Linked DNA regions of Homo sapiens: region 2 is linked to region 1. The links are contacts of gene promoters, found by promoter capture Hi-C in blood cells and fetal thymus (Javierre and others, 2016). All regions are on one chromosome and are shown on one strand. The core of a region is centred on a gene start or on the middle of the fragment in contact, and the rest is flanking DNA. Distances in the headings are between cores, read along the strand shown.

Region 1 (2,700 bases), core at 126-2,625:
CCGCACCCCCCCACCCCAACCTCCCCCCTCCTTAATCATGTTTCACAAAGTAAATCTATAGACGTTCCTCCTGGGTTTTGGGAGATTCCCCATCCTAAACAAACCAGCTGGAGGAAAGGAAAGGAAGGAAGAAATAAACGCAACACAGAAGTTCTCCTCAGTTGACAAAAGGTCAAAAATCATTAACGTGTAAATGTTGCTTTTTCCATCCCAAAGCACCTTCTCACGTAGAGTCCAGGGACTAGGAGGACTCACAACGCAGCGATGGGCAGCCAGGCCCTGCAGGAGTGGGGACAGAGGGAACCCGGCCGGTGGCCCGACCCTGCAGGGAAGAAGGACGTGCGGCGAGAAGCATCGGATTCGGGGAGGGCCGGGACCTGGCCGAGGGTGACATTACCGAGCACTTCCTGGCACAGCGCTGGTCCCCTCCCCAAACGCGCTATATGTGGTTCTGTACGGGACTGCCTTTCCCAAAGACAGCCAAGGAAAAACTAAAGATCGACGGGGACACCCGCCTCCCTTCCTCGCCCCAACGGTTTCTCAGAGGCTGTGGGGACTTGGTGAGGGTAGGGGGTAGTTGTCCCAAATCAGCAGCTTCAGGATGTAAGGTATTACAGAAAACTTTGAAGTTTTGTTATCTGTAGCACAGGGACAGGGGTGGGACAATAGAGAAGGAATGTTTTCTTTTCAAAAGAAAACACAAACAAAACTTTATTTTTCTGGTCCGCGGCAGCCTGTCTGCTGAACGTTGACTTGCTTTCGCTTTGCAGCAGGCGACGGTCCCGGGCGCCACCTGCGCGTCGGTGGGAGGCTGGTCCACGCCCGGGTCCCCCGACGCCCACTGCAAAGGGCAGTGGGAATGACAGACTGTAAACCCTCTCGCCTGCGTCCCCTTCAAGCACCAGAAACCCAAGTTGGAACTAATTCTTTCTTTCGGAAGGTGCAACTCCCCTCCCGCGAGCTCCGCGGTGCCGGGCCGAGATTGCCGAGAGGAAGCGGCGCAGCGCTGCCGCCAAGGCTCCTCCTGTCGCCGGTGCGGCCGGGACTACCTGGCGGCGCGGCGCGTGCAGCGCGCAGAGTCCCGGGAGCCCACGCCTCCGCCTCCGCCCCCGCCCCCTCCGCCTCCCAGTCCACCTCGCCCGCCCGCCCTCTCGCCCGGCGGAGAGCACAGCCCACTCCCTCCCACCTGCGGCCGCCGGGCCGCCCTCCACCCACACCTCTGCCGCAGGCCGGACCCAGTGCGCCCGCCCGTCGGTCAGTCCAGGCCAGGCGCCCGGCGGGCCGCGCTCACGCAGTTGGCGCAGGAGGCCTTACGCTGGCGGCGCAGTGCCCGCCCCCTGCGCTCTCCCCGCCCCCTCCCTCCCTCGCAGGGGCCGAGCGAATGTAGCCCGCGAGAGAAAATGGCGGCGGCGGCGGGGAATCGCGCCTCGTCGTCGGGATTCCCGGGCGCCAGGGCTACGAGCCCTGAGGCAGGCGGCGGCGGAGGAGCCCTCAAGGCGAGCAGCGCGCCCGCGGCTGCCGCGGGACTGCTGCGGGAGGCGGGCAGCGGGGGCCGCGAGCGGGCGGACTGGCGGCGGCGGCAGCTGCGCAAAGTGCGGAGTGTGGAGCTGGACCAGCTGCCTGAGCAGCCGCTCTTCCTTGCCGCCTCACCGCCGGCCTCCTCGACTTCCCCGTCGCCGGAGCCCGCGGACGCAGCGGGGAGTGGGACCGGCTTCCAGCCTGTGGCGGTGCCGCCGCCCCACGGAGCCGCGAGCCGCGGCGGCGCCCACCTTACCGAGTCGGTGGCGGCGCCGGACAGCGGCGCCTCGAGTCCCGCAGCGGCCGAGCCCGGGGAGAAGCGGGCGCCCGCCGCCGAGCCGTCTCCTGCAGCGGCCCCCGCCGGGTGAGCAGCACGGCCGGGGTCGCGGCGGGGACTTGGAGAGCGGGCAGAGGGCAATGAATGAACCCCGGGCACCATGCACGGCGTCCCGGGGTTCAGCGCAGCGAGGCTACGCGCCGCTCGCCGGGACCTACGCCCCTGAGCACCCCCCGACCCCTTCGGAGTCGGGCGGCGCCCCGGACCCAGCCTGGGGGACCGGACGGGGACGTGCGGAAGAGTTTGTTATTGTTTGCAGACATGTGACAGGCGTGCGAGCCTCTCTGCGGGGAACCGTTGCGAAAAGGTGTAGGGGGCCACGGCTGGCTTTGTGGGACTCCTGGAATCGGGGCTCTCCGAGGAGCCCGGGGGCGGGGCACGGCCCTGCGGCGGCGCCCCCGGACGGGTGTCCCCGGGGCAAAGGCACTGGGGGGCGAGGCCCGAGCCTGAGGCGGGCGGTGGTCGGAAGAGGGGCGGGGTGGGTGAGAAGCCCGAGGTCGGGTGGGAGACTGAGAGGACCGAAGAGAAAGTAGCAGGTCCCAGCGGCCGTGACAGGCAGAGCCCCTCGGCCCGCCCGGGACTCGAGTCCCTAGGCAGATACCGCGGGCTGGGCCCGGACGCAGGCGGCGCGCCCCCAGCGCCGGCCGCAGGGCTCCAGGAGGACGGCTCGGTAACGCCTGTCAAAGCCGTGCGGCGGGAGGCTGCACACTCGCGGAGGCTTGCAGTCTTTTAGGAAGTGCGGTTTGTCTAATTGCAGCCCCCAAGGGGCTTTGAGTGTTCCTGGGAATGCGAACTGCACTGCTAAGTCACTTGAGTGACTTCTGTTTGGAGTTTGAATTTGGCCT
Region 2 (2,700 bases), core at 147-2,646, 1.1 Mb before region 1:
CTGAGATTGCGCCACTGCACTCCAGCCTGGCAACAGAGCAAGACTCCATCTCAAAAAAAAAAAAAAAAAAGAAAAAAAAAAGAAAAAGAAAAGAAAAGGAATCTAAGTCTAACTGTTCTCAGAAGTCTAGGGGAAGGAAAGGTAAATTTTATTTTCTTAGAAACAAAGCAACTATATAGGTGACAACTTTTTTTTTTTTTTTTTTAAGACAGGATCTCCCTCTGTGGCTCAGGCTGGAGTGCAGTGGTGCAGTCTTGGCTCACTGCAACCTCCGCCTGCCGGGCTCAAGCAATTCTCCTGCCTCAGCATCCCAAGTAGCTGGGATTACAGATGAGACGCATACCACCACACCTGGCTGATTTTTGTATTTTTAGTAGAGACAGGGTTTCACCATGTTCGCCAGGCTGGTCTTGAACTCCTAACCTCAAATGATCCGCCCACCTCAGCCTCCCAAAAGTGTTGGGATTACAGGCGTTAGCCACCGCAATCCGCCGAACCTTCTATCTTAACACGAAGTTTGTAGTTGTTTATGAGGCAGAGAGATTTTTCTCAAGTTAGGACATGGGTAATTTTGACCTATTGAAACTTTTTTTGTTTAGTTTTTGTTTTTGTTTTTTTTGAGACGGAGCCTCACTCTGTCACCAGGCTGGAGTGCGGTGGCACGATCTCAGCTCACTGCAACCTCCGCCTCCTGGGTTCAAGCGATTCTCCTGCCTCAGCCTCCTGAGTAGCTGGGACTGCAGGCATGTGCCACCACACCTGGCTAATTTTGGTATTTTTTTTTAGTAGAGACGGGGTTTCACCATATTGGCCAGGATAGTCTTGATCTCTTGACCTCGTGATCTGCCTGCCTCAGCCTCCCAAAGTGCTGGGATTACAGGCGTGAGCCACGGCACCTGGCCAAAACGTTTTTAAAAAATCTTTCTCCTCAGCAGCTGCCTATCCTACATATGTCAGATCTTTGTCATGTCTGAAGGTATTAAAAAGAAAAAAGAGGCTGGGCGCAGTGGCCCACGCCTGTAATCCCAGCACTTTGGGAGGCCAAGGCAGGCGGATCACTTGAGATCAGGAGTTCAAGACCAGCCTGGCCAACATGGTGAAACCCCGTTTCTACTAAAAATACAAAAATTAGCGGGGCGTGGTGGCGGGCAGCTGTAATCCTAGCTACTCAGGAGGGTGAGGCACGAGAATCGCTTGAACCAGGGAGGCGGAGGTTGCAGTGAGCCGAGATCACTCCACTGCACTCCAGCCTGGGCGACAGAGCGAGACTCTTGTCTGAAAAAAAAAAAGAAAGAAAAGAAAAGAAAAAAGAAAACAAGGTGGAGGTACAACTTACAACTTATAGTGTGCTCATCTACAGAGCACGGCAATGGATAAGACACTGCCTGGGAGTCATGACAATTAGGTGTTGGTCGAGTTTGCCATTAAATGGTTACCTGGTGTTGAGTAGGTTTCTCCAACTCGGTGGACCTCAGTTTCCTTCTCTGTAAAATGAGGAGAATGCGCTTGACTAGCTGCTCTCAAACCCCTCTTCCAGCTTTACTATGCTGAGATGTCAAGCTACCCACTATCAACACACTCACTCTCACAACTGAGTCGTGTGAAAAGCGTGGCGAGGGCTTACCAGTCATGGCCCTCACCCCCTCTGTGGTCCTAGCTCAAGGCCCAAAGGGGGTTCCTCCCTCATGTTCCCCCTCTAGATGTCCCCAACTCGGGATGGAGAAAGGTGCTCCCAGCCGTGATCGCGCCACCTCACTCAAGCCCAAGCGACGGAGCAAGACCCTATCTCAAGAGAGAGAAAGAAGGGTGCTCCCATTCCTGCAAGTCCCACAATTCTCCTACTCCCTCCTTCTCTCACCCGAGGGTCAGGGTGTTCATTTACCCCAACCCTATCTTTTCTCTAAGGCTCCAGCTGACACCGACTCCCATAGACACTCGGATTTCCTCAGACCCCGAGGGACTCCTGACTTTCTTTCCCTGAGCCCTTGAGGAGCGCGCGCCGTGCCTCCGGAGCAGTCTCCGCGGCTCCAGGCTATGGCCTCCCTGAGCCCCAAAAGAAGAGACGGTTCCGATGCGCTGCAAAGAACTATCCCAGGTGACAGCCGGCTTCGCCCCAACTTCAACCCTTCCCGCCGCCTTCCCTCGGATACCTTCCCACCTCCCCGAGGGGCGAGTTTGCTAGACGTGGGAACGTGATCTACCTGAGCAGGCCGAGCCTTCAACCTCGGAGAACTAGACGAGAAGATAAAGATTCCCTTCCCAAATTCTCGCAATTTGCGACCGCGGGGCTCCTAGTCCAAACAGGAAGCGGCAATAGCCTGGGTCGCAGGGGCCGGCGGGAGTTGGAGTTCTGAATGCGCCAAGCCCGCGGTCGCTGTCAAACCTCTCGCCGCTACGGACTACAACTCCCAGAGGGCTCTGCGACGGCCAGCACGCCCATCACCGCAGGGCCCAGCCCCGAGGCTTCAGGAGGCTGGGCAGCCGGCGCGCCCAGGTGGGCGAGTCCAGTCGGAACTGCAGCCCCGAGTTTGCTCCAGTTCCTTGTCCCGGCTGGAGGCTGGGAGGGGTAGTAGAAGGAATGCAATCTCTTGCCATTCATAGAGCCCCGGAGGCCACGTGAGAAAACGCTGATGCGGCACCTCCATCGAGGGATCACCCCTCTTTTGGGCTTTCCTGGCGCGTGTTGTATGATCTGGTTAC

The links. The method cuts DNA at HindIII sites, captures the fragments that hold promoters and counts their contacts. A CHiCAGO score of 5 or more calls a contact.
Region 2: a contact is called between a fragment that was not itself captured here and the fragment with the promoter of MAP3K1 in region 1, in 1 of 17 cell types (fetal thymus). The highest score is 5.6, in fetal thymus.

Annotation. Positions count from the first base shown.
Region 1 is chr5:56,814,174-56,816,873 of GRCh38, forward strand. MAP3K1 (mitogen-activated protein kinase kinase kinase 1) reads left to right here and starts at 1,376. Exons shown (of 20, transcript NM_005921.2): 1 at 1,376-1,882. The coding sequence starts at 1,401. RefSeq lists enhancers at 604-733, 2,185-2,700 and silencers at 1,094-1,863, 1,934-2,053, 2,234-2,473. The HindIII fragment of the contact is 8,983 bases long and covers 1-2,700 here.
Region 2 is chr5:55,710,016-55,712,715 of GRCh38, forward strand. SLC38A9 (solute carrier family 38 member 9) reads right to left here and starts at 2,309. Exons shown (of 16, transcript NM_173514.4): 1 at 2,202-2,309; 2 at 1,437-1,484. RefSeq lists enhancers at 1,757-1,836, 2,407-2,456, 2,547-2,700, 2,572-2,700. The HindIII fragment of the contact is 3,721 bases long and covers 1-2,700 here.